3 separate regions of the Homo sapiens genome follow, and regions 2 and 3 are each linked to region 1. The links are contacts of gene promoters, found by promoter capture Hi-C in blood cells and fetal thymus (Javierre and others, 2016). All regions are on one chromosome and are shown on one strand. The core of a region is centred on a gene start or on the middle of the fragment in contact, and the rest is flanking DNA. Distances in the headings are between cores, read along the strand shown. Region 1 holds the start of NPAS2 (neuronal PAS domain protein 2). Region 2 overlaps NPAS2 (neuronal PAS domain protein 2). Region 3 holds the start of LOC105375310 (a long non-coding RNA gene).

What was found. Contacts are between HindIII fragments. The CHiCAGO score rates a contact against its expected background, and 5 or more counts as called.
Region 2: a fragment that was not itself captured here is called in contact with the fragment with the promoter of NPAS2 in region 1 in 1 of 17 cell types (endothelial precursors); the score reaches 7.0 in endothelial precursors.
Region 3: a contact is called between a fragment that was not itself captured here and the fragment with the promoter of NPAS2 in region 1, in 3 of 17 cell types (endothelial precursors, M2 macrophages and M1 macrophages). The highest score is 8.8, in endothelial precursors.

Annotation. Positions count from the first base shown.
Region 1 is chr2:100,817,772-100,822,772 of GRCh38, forward strand. NPAS2 (neuronal PAS domain protein 2) reads left to right here and starts at 2,368. Exons shown (of 21, transcript NM_002518.4): 1 at 2,368-2,643. The HindIII fragment of the contact is 7,542 bases long and covers 1-5,001 here.
Region 2 is chr2:100,943,984-100,948,984 of GRCh38, forward strand. It overlaps NPAS2 (neuronal PAS domain protein 2), which reads left to right. Exons shown (of 21, transcript NM_002518.4): 6 at 4,252-4,372. Among named protein-coding and RNA genes, the nearest start is that of NPAS2-AS1, 31 kb to the right of the region's middle. The HindIII fragment of the contact is 5,412 bases long and covers 89-5,001 here.
Region 3 is chr2:100,728,984-100,733,984 of GRCh38, forward strand. LOC105375310 (a long non-coding RNA gene) reads right to left here and starts at 4,875. Exons shown (of 3, transcript XR_001739612.2): 1 at 2,461-4,875. RefSeq lists a silencer at 1,364-1,658. The HindIII fragment of the contact is 395 bases long and covers 2,155-2,549 here.

The DNA of each region.
Region 1 (5,001 bases), core at 1,118-3,617:
TTCCCATCTGGGTGAGATTAACATTAGGACACGGGATGGAGTTTGGAATAAATACGACAACCACATACACGTCATCTCCAGGACTAAAAAGGCAGAAACCACATTTAGTAGGGGCATCTACTGGACAACAGAGAAAAAGAGACCACAGCAAAAACACTTTTTGTACTGCAGAATTATTTGATGAGTTACTACTACAGGACATTCCAGGTTTCCTAAAAGAAAATTTAATGATTGTTCAACAAGTTCCCAAAAGGGAGTAGGAAAAGGGAGTTGGAATCTCTTCCAAAGCAAAAAAGGAAGGGAGGTGACTTTAAATAATGCTTTAAAACCGGTTAGAAGTACACAATTTCATCCTTTAGTAATATTAGTCATGGCCACGCTCTAAAGGCGGGGTGAAACCTACTTGCCTGGAGGAAAAGGACGGGGTAGAAAAACAAAGCAAAATAAAATCCATCAAACAAAAGTTTCTTCTTTTGGAAAGGGAGGGACTTCAAAATCATGACAGGCCAAATGCCTCCTCCTCTTTCTTGAAAAGCCCTCCAAGTCAGAAGCAAGCCTGAGAATAACAGCTGCTCTTAGGATGCTCAAAGCTCCTTGCAGCTGATTATTTTTCAGGAGGAGAATTAGACACAAATAATACAAGTGGGAAATAAAGAGAATGACCTACTTTACAGGGGGGGTAAAAAGGAGCTCTGTGTGAGCGTTTTGATCTAATTGACGGTGTGGGGTTGCATGCCCAAATAAGGCGCTGCTGGTCGGATCTGCGAGGGAGAGGGCACGTCTCAAACTCGAGGGAGAGGACGAGACAGCGAGAGGAACAGCGTCCGGGGCGACCCCCAGTCCACCGCGGGGGCCTGGCGCGCTTGGGGCAAAGGCCCTAGGAGACCCCTTCTGGCCACAAAATCGAGTATGACAGAAAAGGGCCAGCGGGGGCGCTTTCCTTCCAGGGCCACTTGCCGGAATGTAAGAGGGACGGAGAGACGTCCGGAAAAGGCTGCCACGCTCGGAGCGCTGCGCCAGGCCAGGCACCTAGGCCAGGGGAGCGGAGACCTCGTGGGAGCGGGCAGGGGGACCTTTCCCCTCTCCCGGGCTTCCACCCAGGCGCCTCCCCGCTGTGAACGCCGCCGCCCAGGTGAAGGGGAAACCGGCCACGTTTCCGGACCTCGGCGGGGCACACGGTCTCCGGTTTTCACCGGCTCTGTCTTGGAGCCCCGAAGGGCATCAGACAGCAGCCCCGGCACCCGGGGATTATTCCTGTACCTCTGCCTCCCTCCGCTTGGCGTTTGCGGGAACCTTGGTAAAATCCTCCCTGTTTCTCGCGCGCGCCTCTCTCTCCAGCTTCTTTTTCTTGGATTCTCGCCTGTCTCCTCCCACAGAGGAAAAAAAAAAAAAGGTCACGTATGTTTGGAAAAATATGTAGGTCAGTGGAACATTTCCTGCACTGGTGCAAAAGGAGAGGAGGGCAGCGGAGGAGGGGAGGGAGAGGCAGAGTGGAGCTCCAAGTGCCCGCTCCTGGCCGCAGCCCCACACCCCACGTGCCCCTGCCGGGGAGGGGGGCAATTAGCCGGTTCCTTTCCATCCTTGACCCATTTTCCGGACCAGCTACGTTCGCCTTAGGACAGGCACTGGTTATTCCTCCCCAGCAGTCGCTGCTGTCCTCCGCCGACCACCGCTCGCCCGCATCTTCCCCGACCCCCGCCTCCCACCTGCCCCCGGGCCGCACCCCCGCCGCTCATTGAGAAATCGCAGTGGTCCCCGCAGAGACGCGCTTTGTGCCCTGGGTCGAGACCTGCGCGCAACCCTGCCCCTGGAGGACAGTGTGGAGGGGGTGACAGTCGCGTGCTCGTCCCCCTTCATCCCCTGCGCGGGACAGCAGGGTGGCGGCCCGCACTGCGAGGGTCTACACTAGGCGGGGGCGGCAGATTCCTTGTTCCCCCCGAGTGACAACTTTAATGGGACCTCGGCTGGCAGCCTCTAGTCCACTTGCCTCTCCTCTGGGCCGGCTCACCTGGAAGCACAACCCCCCCCTCCCCCAGCCCCGGCGCCCAACCCCGACCCTGCGCCCCAGGCCCGACCCCGCCGCGCGTCCCTGGCAGCCCAGCAGAGGCTGCGGCGGCCTGGGGACTCGCGGGTGTCTGCGCCGCCCAGGGAAGCCGGGGGTCTAGGGGGCCGGGGGTCCGTCTGCCTGCGGCGCGCGCGGGGTGCTTGTCCCAGGCTGGGTCGGGGCCAGGAGAGACCCCGCAGGCGGAGGCAGGCGAGGGGAGGAGGAGGAGGGTGGGGGTAGGAGGGGGAGGTGGAGAGGGAGGAGGGTGGAGGGAGGAGGCAGGGGAGGAGGCAGAGGCGGAGGCGGCTCTCCCCGCCGGCTCTGCGTGCGGAAGAGTTTGCCGCGCGAGCAGCCGGCCTCTCGCAGGAGCCGAGGGACCCGCGCGGCTGCGGCCCAGGAGCGGCGGCCGCGGAGCCCGGAGACCCGCAGCCGCGGCGGCGGCGGCGGCGGCGGCAGCAGCTAGAGCAGCGCCTCCCGCCGCCGCCCGGGAGGAGCTCGCCGCGCCCGCTCGCCGCCTCGTCTCCCAGCGGCGGCGGGAGGCGCGTCTCCCCGGCCCAGTCCGCGCCCGGCCCCGCGGGGCCGCTCCGGCCCGCTCCGAGGTAAGGGGCCGCGCCTAGGGGCGCGGGGGACCCAGGGTGGGTAGTACGTGCGCGCGGGGTCGCAGGACTCGGTCACCTGCTCGCCAGCGTGGAGGACGCGCGGGGGCGGAGGGGCGCTCAGGCGCGAGGCTGCGCGGCACCGGGGACCCCGGACGCGGGGGCGCGGAGAGGTGGGTTCCCCTCCACAGTCAGGCCGCTGGGGGCTTCGCGTCCTGCAGGAGGTAGCAATCGCTGGGCCGGTGGGCTCCGGGCGCGTCTCGACGCAGAAGACAGAGGACTGGGCATCCGAGCCTCGGAATTTGGGGGTCCTCGGGGTGTCCGACAGGGTGGAGAAGGATCGTGCCCCAGGGCAACAGCTTTGGGGATTGCCCGTGGTTGTCTTCGAGACCCATCGCGCTACCCTCCGAAACGTCGGGCGTCCTGGACCCCCGGAGAGTGCGGCGTGCGCGCCCTGGGCCCGCGGTCTCTCGGAGTCCCTGGGTCGGAATTGGTTCCGGGCCGGATTGGGTGCGGAATCGGTGCCCCCAACCCCCGTGTGCGCAGACAGCGTGCAGCCTGGCTCCTCACGTCGCTGCCGCCCCCCCACCCCAACTCCGGAGCTCCCCAGGTTGGATGTATGCGTATGGTTTTGTTGGGAGATGTGCCCCTTTCCCAGCCGAGGAGGGACGCACCTTTGACCTTTCTGAAGAGCTGGGCAGGTCGGTAACCAGGGAAGGGACAGGCACCACCCGGCTAAATTCAGAACCAGTCCCGCTCCTCTGCTTGCCACTCCTTAATTGCTCAAGGTAAGAAAGTTTGTTTCAGCCCTGTGATTCATAAATAATTAGTAACTAGTTTTGTTGATTAAGCAAGATGGAAACCTTGAATATACGCACGCACTTCCACAAAGTCTAAACACTCCCGAGCTTGTGTCCGGGAGGCTTTAGTACGGAAAGTTAGAAGCCCTGGAGTTCAACAGGTGTTCAGGAGGGTCCCGGAGAGGAGTTTCGTCTTTACGCGTTGCTTTGGCATCCACCCCAACTTCATTAAAGTGGTTAGCCTGTTTTCCTACAGGTAAAACATTGATCACTTATTAAATTAACTTAATCAGCAGAGACGAGCTAAACCGTCTTGATCATTTAGAACCCAAACCTTATTTTCCTTAATAGAAAGGTTTTTCCTGTTTGAACTTCCCAGGTAATTAGTTCTAAAGTAGTTCCCAGCAAGACATCTCTGCCAGCATCTCTCTCTCACTGTAGCTTGGTCCCCATCAGTGAATTGACCAACTAATTATGGCTTGCATTAAACACAGAGCTGCCCTCCTTGGGAGGCACTGTTCACATTCAAGCGCACACACTAGCTCCATCTTCCTGCCACTAAGATGTCCTTAAAGGAAAAAGTTAGCCAAAAATAACCCCCAAATAAATAGTGTAATGTTTAAAAGAGTTATCCTGACCTGCGCCACTATTTTATAAAAGCAAAAATTCAGTGTTTCATTACAGCGCTAAACCAGGACCAGTAGAAGTATTGGTATCTCTCAGCAGTCTACTTAAATATTTAGTTAAAAATAAAGTGTGCAAAGTAAAGACGTTCAGTAATTATCTTCCATCTCACAGAGAGATGTGGAGTATGGCTTAGAAGAATTGTAAATGCGCTGCTTTTAGCCGTTTTCTTCTTGGAAATCGATGCCTCTATTTATTTGCTGATCTGTCCCACTGTGCGTAAATGTAGAATCGGTTTTATTCTCACTGCTTCCCAGAGGGGCTCCTGTGGAGGTGAAAGAAGGAAATACGTTCTAGAGGAAATATGTTATTAATAAAACGTTACCCCCAAAGAGTTAACCACGCCAAAAATAACCAAGTGAGGCTTTACTAATTAGTGGTCTGATGAGAGAGTGTTCAGATGATGACTAAAGAATTGATCTTTATGTAGAAAACAACAATTGTTTTTAAGCTCATTTGGTTCTCTTAAAACAGTTTGGGCCCTTTAAAAAAATTTCTGGCTGTTTAATAATGCAAATGATGAAAATCGTTAAAGATAACACATATAACCTGATGTGTGCCATGTTTAAGTTGAATTCACCCTATTTTTTTGAACAATCTTTCTTAACTCTTGGTAATCTTTATAGCTCACTCAACACTGCAACTTATTAGATTAAAAACTGAAAGTTAATTTTTTCAGAATAAAATAATAAGGCATGCGTATACTTTTTAATTTAACCATCTTTATATGTTCATTTTTTCAGAGTCTTGCTTTTGAATCTTAAGAACCCAAAGGGCTAAGTCTTCTTTCTTAATTTTTAAAACAAGCATGTGTTTTGTTCTTTACATGAATCGTCGGTTCTCCCAGTGTGATCACGACACTGTCCCATGCTGATTC
Region 2 (5,001 bases), core at 1,545-4,044, 130 kb after region 1:
GATTCTTTCTGTATAATTGGTACCTTTTATATCTCAATTAATTCTTACTATTACAAAGTCAAAGCCATTCTCTACACTACCTTCTGAAAGCTTAACCATATGGCCGTTAGTTTGACTTTGAATCTAAACTGAATCTAAGTGGATCAAATATGCCTCCAACTTCCTGGACCTTTAGGGAGACCAAGGCCCCAGTGACTTCTCTTAAGCCGTTCTTTTCTCAAGGTGAAGTTTCTCCAGGGCTGCTCACCATTGCCTCTTCTCACTGCAGCCAGCACAGATCTCAAGCCAAAACTGCCAGAGCGCCTCAGGGACACTCTGGGAGGAAGTGTCCATCCAGCCTACTTCCAGCTCAGCCTCAGTGTGCTTTTAGTACAGGCTCATTTAACATAGCTGGGTGTCCCTGCACTGGTGCTGCTGGTTCAAGGCCCGTCAGGCAATTAGGAGAGAGGACTGCCCACCTCCACAGGCAGGTGACCTTCCCGATCGTGGGACTCGGCTGTAAAGACGGCTGTGGATGGCACATTCCCTCCCTTGTCTCCATAATTGCTATTATTTTAATAAACAGAACTCAGCTCATTCAAGGGACCGTTCAACTGCCGATGTAATTTTCTCACCTGTAAGCACTAGGGTTAAAAATTTCAAGTTATCATTGTTTGTGTTGGTTTTCAGCATGTGGAAGTAGCATAATAGCAATGTACTAGCAAATACATGCAAGAGCCAAGCACAGTCTGGGGCCCTTTCTGTGTGTTAATTCACCATCCTCGCAACCTCCCACATATCATACCTGCCCCTACTTGCATCCAGCGTTCGTCTTTATTCTGTGCAGAACCCGTGTCCTGATATTGGCCCTCGGACCTGTATCAGTAAAGTTCTCTCACACAGGTGACCCGGCCAGGCAGCCACTCAGCCTTGCTCTCTGCCACACCCACCGTCAGGGGAAGTGGCTTCAGATGGAGCCCTCCAAGAAGAGGCCATGGAGTCACTTAGTTTTCATTTTCAAGTATTTGAAATATCTTTATGAAGAAAGACTACTGTCATCTGTGAACATGAGTCATCTTCTAAAAAAACTAGAGAGAATGGGCTTAAAATAAAACCAGGAACATCCGAAGAAACTTGGAGAAAGCCAGAATGAGAAATGGTAGCATAGACGAGAGAGGATCCTGGTAGAGTTTCGTCCATAAAGATAAAGACCGGTGCGTCCGAGCCAGAGCCTGGAAGCCATGCTGAGTCCTTCCTTTCCCTCCTCCTGTCCTCCGATCAGCCACCAAGCTGTGTCCACTGTCCTCACACCCACCGGAACACTGACTGCAGGCAGGGAGGGGCTCTGCCTGCTTCCCAACGTGTCTTCCCCATGCCCAACAGCGGCTGGCACATGGCGGCCCTCAGCAAGTATTGTTTGGACTACGATATTGATGAGTTGCCTGGGACTCTGTCTGCTCCTCTCCACTCCTTCCCCTGTCTCTCTTGGGACCCTGGCCATTGCCAGCCTGACTTCCAGTGCTCTCTCCTTCCAGACTACAAGCAGGATCTCTTTAAAATGCACGAGCAGTTCTGCCACCCCCTTCCTTCAGGTTCTTCGTGGCTCCTCCTGGCACAGGGTCGAGCCCTGACTCCTCCGAGGCCTCTCTCATCTGGGCCCTGCTTCCCTGTGCAACCTCCTCTGTCATGGCTTCTCGCCCTCCCTGTTGTTCCCACCTTCCTGCAGTGCTGTCAGGGTACCCACCTTATGCCTCTGTGCATGCTGAGCCCCCTGGCTGGAGCACCTTCCCACCCTGTCTGGCAGACACTGTCTTGTCCCCTGGCTCCCACTCAAGGATTCCTCCCTCTGGAAATTGTTCCCCAGGAGTCTCCTCTACCCTTTCATTGTGGAGGCAGCACACCATCCACAGTGTTCTCCGGGCACCTTGTTTTAATGCCTGTCATAGTGCTGGCCACGCCATTCTTTCAGCTGGTCAGTTCAGTCACCATCCTGGACATCAGGGATGTGGTGGTGAACAAGGCACTGGGCCCTGCTCTCCTGAAGCTCCTGTTGGAGAGAGGGAGGCGGAATGCTCAACTCAGCACATAGCTGTACAGGAAAACGTTACTGTGGTGCAGGTGCCCTTGTAGTCATTCTGTAACTGGTCATTCAGTGCCTAATCGCACTTGGCATTTATTGAATGTCTGCCACGTGCTGTTTTATCAGCAGTGGAGGCAGGTGAGCTCATGGAACCTTCATGGTTTCCTCACCTTGCAGCTGAGGAAAATGCAGCATGGAGGGGTAGAACCTGCTTTCAAGCCTGGGCTCTGAGCTCTCACGCCTTGCCATGTCACCTGATGTCCCATCAAGGGGGTCATTGTCCCCTCAGAGCCCCTTAAATCATCAGTGGGGGTGGAGGGTGTCACCTGGGGCTTTCTCAGAGGAAGTGACTTCAAAGCAGGGACCTGAAGGTTGCACAGGGCTTCGTTAAACACAAGGGGAGGGTGCAGCATGTTCCTGCCTGAGGGAACAGCCCAGGTGAGGCTCGGGGAGAACAGAAGGCAAACTGGAGGAAAAAAGGCTCGGAAGGATTAGAGAAGTGCTGGGAGCTGGGAGAGGCAGAGGCTGAGCTGTGAAGAGCTGTGAAATTGTGTTGAGCAGTTGAGGCTTTGTTCCTGGAGCAGTCGGAAGCCAAGGGACAGTTGTGACTTGATCTGTTATGAGGCTCCTCTGACTGCTGATGGAGAACAAATTGCACAGGCACTAAAGTGGATGTGGGAAGACCAGTTTGGCCAAATCATTCCCAGGCAAGAGAGGATGGGGGTCTGGACTAGGGTGGAAGCTGGAGAAATAGAAGTGAATGGAGCAGAGAATTTGAGGGAGAAAAATGGGCAGTACTATGGACACTGTTTGGTTTGAGGGTAAGGACGAGAAGGAGAGAAGACAAAGGCGCCACCAGAGGGTCTGGGACAGGCAGATGACCAACTGATGATACTGTTGATGGAGATGCAAACACAAGGGTTGGAGATGATATGGGTGGGAAAGAATGCCGATGTTCAGGACATGTATTCATCTGTGGTCCCCAGGGAGCATCTGAGTGGCAGTTGGAAGGCTGAGGCTGGAACATGAGAGAGTTGGCTGGATATTCAAACCTGAAAGTGTATACAGATTGTGTTTGAAGCTGTGAGAGTGGATGGGTTTATTGAGGGAAACTGAGGAAGAGAGAGGTGCCTGTCTCCTCGGTCCACTGTGAGCTCCTACCTGCATATCCAATATGGTAGCCACTAGCTACATGTGGCTGTTTAAATTTCAATTCAAATTAAATGGGCCAGGCTTGATGGCTCATGCCTGTAATCCCAGCACTTTGGGAGGCCGGGGTGGGCGGATCACCTGAGGTCAGGAGTTCAAGACCAGCCTGGCCAACACGGTGAAACCCGTCTCTACTAAAAATACAAAAAATTAGCCGGCCATGGTGGCAAACACCTGTAGTTTCAGCTACTTGGGAGGCTGAGGCAGGAGAATCGCTTGAACCTGGAAGGTGGAGGCTGGCAGTGAGCCGAGATCACACCATTGCACTCCAGCCTGGGCAACAAGAGCAACACTCTGTCTCAAAAAAAAAAAAACAAATTAAAATTCAGTTCCTTGTTCACACTAGCCACGTTTCAAGTGCTCAGTAACCATGTGGCTAGTGGCTCCTGTTACGGGCAGCACAGATTACAGACCATTTCCATCATCACAGACAGTTCTATTGGACAGCACTCAATCTGAACTCTACCTTGTATTTATTTTGTAACCACAGTGCCAAGGCACTCAGAAGAAAACGTGCAGTTCCATAACTTAAAGACCTTTACGAAGTAGACTGGCAGCCCTTTGCTGCCCTAAGGGTCAGGAAAGGAACCCTGTGGGCTCTTTGGAGCCATTTAAATCAATGATTGGCCTCGCACTGGGCGTGCACAGGGGCCATGCTACCCCAGCCAAAACGCAGGAGTGTCAGCAAACAGCACTTCTCAAGCAACAGGAGGACTCAGTCCTTCCTACATTTGTCTGACTTCACTCTTAGTTCCCTCCTTGGCCCACAGACAACAGCACATATGCATTTGAACAAATACAGCCCTTTAGGTTACTATTTAAAACAATGGAGTGATAAACTGAGAGTGTCCACAGAAAATCAGATATTGAACTTTCCATTTCAGAAACCAGTTCTGCGTTGTTGTGAATGTTCAATTTTTGTTTTTGCTTCTGTTTTTCATCTTCGTTGAGGGTGTACCTTTGTCCTTTATTTTCTTTTTCAGTCGGATGTCATGGATCAGAATTTGTTAAATTTCCTCCCAGAACAAGAACATTCAGAAGTTTATAAAATCCTTTCTTCCCATATGCTTGTGACGGATTCCCCCTCCCCAGAATACTTAAAATGTAAGTTTAATTTTTCTGGTTTTACAAGCTAGAAAGATAAGAATTTTGCTTTTGAAAGGAGGTTAGAATGAATTAAGAAGGGAGAACTAATTTTAAGAATAATTTTCCTCATGACTCAGAACATTTCCAAGATCCTTAGAGGTATATTTTAGGTTTAAAGCTAAAACTGGAATTTGGAATATGTAAGACATTTGGCTTTTATGTGGAAAATTTGAAAGCAGAGAACTCAAGAATAATAATTTATTTTGTGTATATGATAAGATTTCTCTTTTTTTTTGCATGAGAGTCTTTTAGTAAGAAACAGTGCAAACATCAGTGAACAATCAGCTCATCATGGAGGATACTAAGATACTAAATTCATATAATATCAAGAAACCAACTGAAAACGGAATAATTAGGTCAAAAATCCAAATTCTGTCCTCCTGAGGCTCTCACCTGGTTATTTATATACATTTTTGTGTTCTGTGGAATTCAGACGTTTTTATCAAAATATTTGGCAACCTAGGTAGAAGGCTAACCTTGATGCCTCGTGAACCACGGGTCACTTAATGAAGCATACACAATTGCATGAGGTAGCAAAGCTGCTTGCATCAGTGCAAGCCTGTGTCCATTTTCCATGAATAATCTGT
Region 3 (5,001 bases), core at 1,102-3,601, 89 kb before region 1:
ATGATAATGTAAATTGACACAGAAAAAATATTTGACAAACTACAACACTACCTCATGATAAAAATTATCTGCAAGTTAGGAATAGAGGGAATCACTTCAACCTGATAAAGAGCATCAACAAAAACCTGCATCTAATATCATACTTAATGGGGAAAAACTGAATACTTTGCCCCTAAGGTCAGGAACAAAGCCAGGGAAGGATGTCCACTATCACCACAGTATACGTCATAACACTAGAACTTCTAGACTCTGCAATAACGCATGAAAAATAAATAAAATACATACAGATTGGAAGGAAGACATAAAACTTTCCCTATTTGCAGTTTACACAATTGTCTATATAGAAAACCCAAGAAGTCTACCAAAAGCTCCTTTAAGGAATCAGTGAGTGTATTAGTCCACTAGCGCTACATAACACAATACTGCAGACTGAGGGGCTTAAACCGAAGAAATTTATTTTCTCACACTTCTATAAGCTAGAAGTCCAAGAGCAAGGTGCTAGCAAGTTGATTTCTGGTGAGTCCTCTCTCCTTTGCTTGCAGATCACTGCCTTCTTGCTTACATGATGTTTTCTCTACACTTGCATTCCTGGTATCTTCTCCTCTTCTTATAAGGACACTAGTCCTATTGGATTGGAGACCCACCATTATGACCTCATTTAACCTTAATTACATCCTTAAAACCCCTATCTCCAAATACAGTTAACTGGCTTCAATATGTAAATTTTTGGGGAAAACATAATACTGAGTTTAAACACATTCTAGAATATAAGGTCAATACAAAAAATCATGTATATTTATAAAGATAGTAATAAACAATCAGAAACAAACAAAAAATGATAAGAGCTCCCCCCCAAAAAGAGATACGTATAAATAATTTTAACAAAACATACATAGAATCTATGTGCTGAAAACACTAAAATGCTGATGAAATAACTCAAAGAAGACCTCAATATATGGAGAAACATACTATGTTCATGGATTGGCAGACTCAACAAGAAAAAGGACAATTTTACCCAAATCAATCTATGCTTTTGATGTAATGTCAATCAAAACTCTAGCAGAATTTTTTGCAGATATTTGACAAGCTGATTTTGAAATTCATATAAAAGGCAATGAAACTAGCATAGCCAAAAGAAAATTGGCTTTGGAAGAATCCCACTATCTAATTTTAAGACTTATAAGAATCAAGACAGTGTGGTATTGGCAGAGGGAGAGACACATAGATCAACAGAACAGAATAGAAAGTACAGAAATAGACACAAATCAATCTTGTTTGTCAAATGTGCAAAGGAAATTCAATGAAGAAATGATAGTGTTTTCAACAAATTGTGTTGGCATTTATACACACAAAAACATGAACCTCAACCCTGCAGCTAGTTGTAACCATGTAACTAGGTTTTGGGCAGTGGGATATAAGTAATTACTTAAAGATGAAGCTGTTGAGATTCTCCTAATCCTCCAGCCCCTCTCCTGGAGGTGGTGCTGGCGAGCTACTTTCAACCACGAAGTTGAGAACAACTGGAGCAGGAGCCTTAACCCAAAGAACAGCCACATGTTGAAGGCAGACATGCTGGGCCAGTTGGAAACCTTGATGACCTTATGAAGCAGAGCTCACCTTTCTGCCCTGGACTGTTTACCTGAGGCAAAAATAATCTTTGAACTCACGTAGGCTAATGCACTTGGGGATCTTTGTTATAATGAATATACATATGCATTGCAGAAAAATATAAAGGGTAAAATAAAAGTCATTCAGGGTCTCACTACCCAAGAGAGACATACTTTGATCTCACCTTGGCCCTTTCAATATGCTGCTAGGGTAAACTTCCGAAAAAAAAAAAAAGTTGGCTGGGCACGGTGGCTCACGCCTGTAATCCCAGCACTTTGGGAGGCCGAGGCGGGTGGATCACCTGAGGTTGGGAGTTCGAGACCAGCCAGACCAACATGGAGAAACCCCATCTCTACTAAAAATACAAAAATTAGCCAGGCGCGGTGGTGCATGCCTGTAATCCCAGCTACTTGGAAGGCTGAGACAGGAGAATCGCTTGAACCTGGGAGGCGGAGGTTGCAGTGAGCCGAGATTGCGCCATTGCACTCCAACCTGGGCAACAAGAGTGAAACTCTGTCTCAAAAAAAAAAAAAAAAAAAGTTAATAAGCTTGTCTAGCATTGCAGTAGATATCCTGAAGAACCTTGGATTTGGGGAGTAAGGTATAGGAATCTATTTCCTTTTCAGCCCTTAGATTGCAATAACTCTCCCTGGAGATTGTGCCACTAACATGACTACTCAGTGCCAGAGTCAACCAGATTGTGACTGGCTGACAGACAAGCAGCCAGTCCTTGCTAAATACATGTCCCTGCACCATACCCAGCAAGAGGAATGAGTATAATATAATAGTTAGGATCGTGGTCTTTGCAGTTGAAAAGTCATGGGTTCAAGTCCTAGCTTTGCTTCTTCCTACCTGTGTAACCTTGGGCAGGTGTGTAAACTTGTCTGAATTTCAATTTCCGCTTCTCTAAAATGAGAACAGATAGTAGCACCTCCCTCTTAAGCTTGTTGTGAGAATTAAACATGATGATACATGTGAAGTGATATAGAGCCTGGCACATAATACATACTCCATAAATGGGTGCTATTGCATCATCCATTCATGCATCATGTGTAAATTAAGTGTCTACTATATGCCTGGCACCTTTCTAGGCAATGGCAACATAGCAGTGAGTGACACAATAAAGATCTTTGCTCTCATGAATCTTACTTTCTACTTGAGGAGAAGGACTATAAACGCAATGTTTAAATAACAGTAGATCTGATGCAATTAAGACGGATAGAGAGTGACTTATTGTTAGTCATAACAATAGCTTTGTCCTGTGTGAGGATGGTTGGATTCAGTTGCCTCCCTCAGTCCTGCCAGGATTCATGTAGACAGCTGGGCAGGGCTGGTGTGGGCAGGGAGGACATGAGTGGACACTACACAGAATTCGTACAGTCAACAACTTTGTGAGCCATGGCAGGTGTCCCACTGTGAAACATGGCTGAAACCTTCACCTGCCAGACCCCTGGGATCACAGGGCAAGAGGAGGAGCCTAGGTTTCCAAGGACACAGGCATGAGGCAGAAGTCTGGAGTACACTAACAAGGTTTCAGATTTGCTGGGCCCTCCCATAAGAGCCCAACTGGCCCCATTTGGGGACCAGTAGCAAACAGAGTTAATTTTTCTTAACTAGTGGATGACAGGGTGTTTCGATTCAGAACGAATTTCTCAATCCATACATCAAGAACTCAACAGCAGTTCTCAACCCTGCTTTTCTTCAGAATCACTTTTAAATCTATGAAAACGACATCACCCAAACCGTCATATCCCAGAAAGTCTGATTAGTGCAGCTCAGGGATGGAAACTGGGCATTCTTGCAATGCAATGTTCCAAGGTGATTTAATGTGCGCTCAATGTTTGGAACCACTGATTTCACCCTTAAACCAAATCACAAAGCACTTCGTGCCCCCAGACAGTCATGGTCCAAATGCTGCACCATGGTAGGGTCAGCCTGCAATCTCCCTCCGCAGAGTTTGGAGAAGGGTGGCCACAGTAAAGGATTAGAAACATTCCCATGGGAGAAGCAGGCTTGTTCCCACCGACTTCCTCAGTCATGCCGTCTTTCTAGTGAGCGTTCTTCCTCCTCTCCGTGGCCTCTCCAAGGTTCAACCAATCTTCAGTCTCTCTACATCCAAATCCTCTTCTGGGGCAATAGCAGCCCACAAGGCCTCTGCTTTCTTTGAAATCTGGCCCCTCTTAATAGTAACAGGGCTTTCCAGTTTATAAAGTACCATGGCATTTATTTTGGCATTTAACTTTCCAAGCACCCTATTAAACAGATAAAATTATTTTACAAAGGGAGAGGCCACAACTTTAGAATACTAAGTGATTCACAAACCCTCCTTAGCCCATAACTGGCAGGTCTGGGACCTACGTCTCCGTTTTCCAAAGTGTTCTCAATTTCTCCCCAACCTGGCCAGTTCTCTTACGAAGTGTCCCAGCACCTGACCATTTAACTTCCATAAGCGTCAAGATTGTCAGTTTAACCTTTCTAAATGCTCGATCACAAAAATCACATTGTTTGCCTCTTCTGTCACTCATCGTGTTAATTCGTTCATTATAGTACCCATTTAAATGAATTTATTAAATATAAATTATTCACCTAGTGTCAGCTGAAAATGATGTTATCTACCAAAAAAAAAAAAAAATCAAAACGTATTTTCTGGAAAAGAGACTGACTACACAAAGCAATGCACACTTTTCTAACTTTAGTTCGAAATCCTAAATTCAGAGAGTTGACAACAACATGAGCCAGGGTGAGCTGACCTTTCCCGGTTGCTTTGCTGCAAGCACAGGATTGTGAGGGTTTGGGGTCACGAGGGTTTGGGTACTGTCATATTTTTAACAGGGCCCTTCATGGAATTGAGTCTTTCCACACATAAGCTCCTGCACTGGCATTCATTTAGTATAGGTGCTAAAAGGTCTCAGAAGAGCAGCAAAGCACTTTCTCTGGAAGGTCACTGGCCCCGTCACTTTAACATTCCCTTGCAGAAAAATTATAAATGAGTCATCGAGGACACTGAATCACGTGGAAGAGACTTTCAAATAATTTGCACATTGAATAAAAAGACACTGCCTTTACCTCATCCCCAGGATGAATTCTTGGGGCCCATCACTTTAAAGTGCCTTGATAGAAATTATCAGAACTCAATTCATTAGGCAATTGTTAATTTCATTCAAATCCGAAGGTCAGTGGCACAATAGGGCTTGGCATAGGTTCCTATGCTTCTTTCACGTGGCTCAGATTTCCTCATCATTCACAGCAGTTAGAGAAGCAGCTCTGTTGCAAGGAGGGAACGGGGTGGGGGTGAGGCGGGGGGAACTGCCAGCTGTGGCATTGTGTGGACCAGGAGATATTTCCAATTAGGCGAGAGTGGGAGGTTGCCTCATGAGAGATAGGAAGATGACT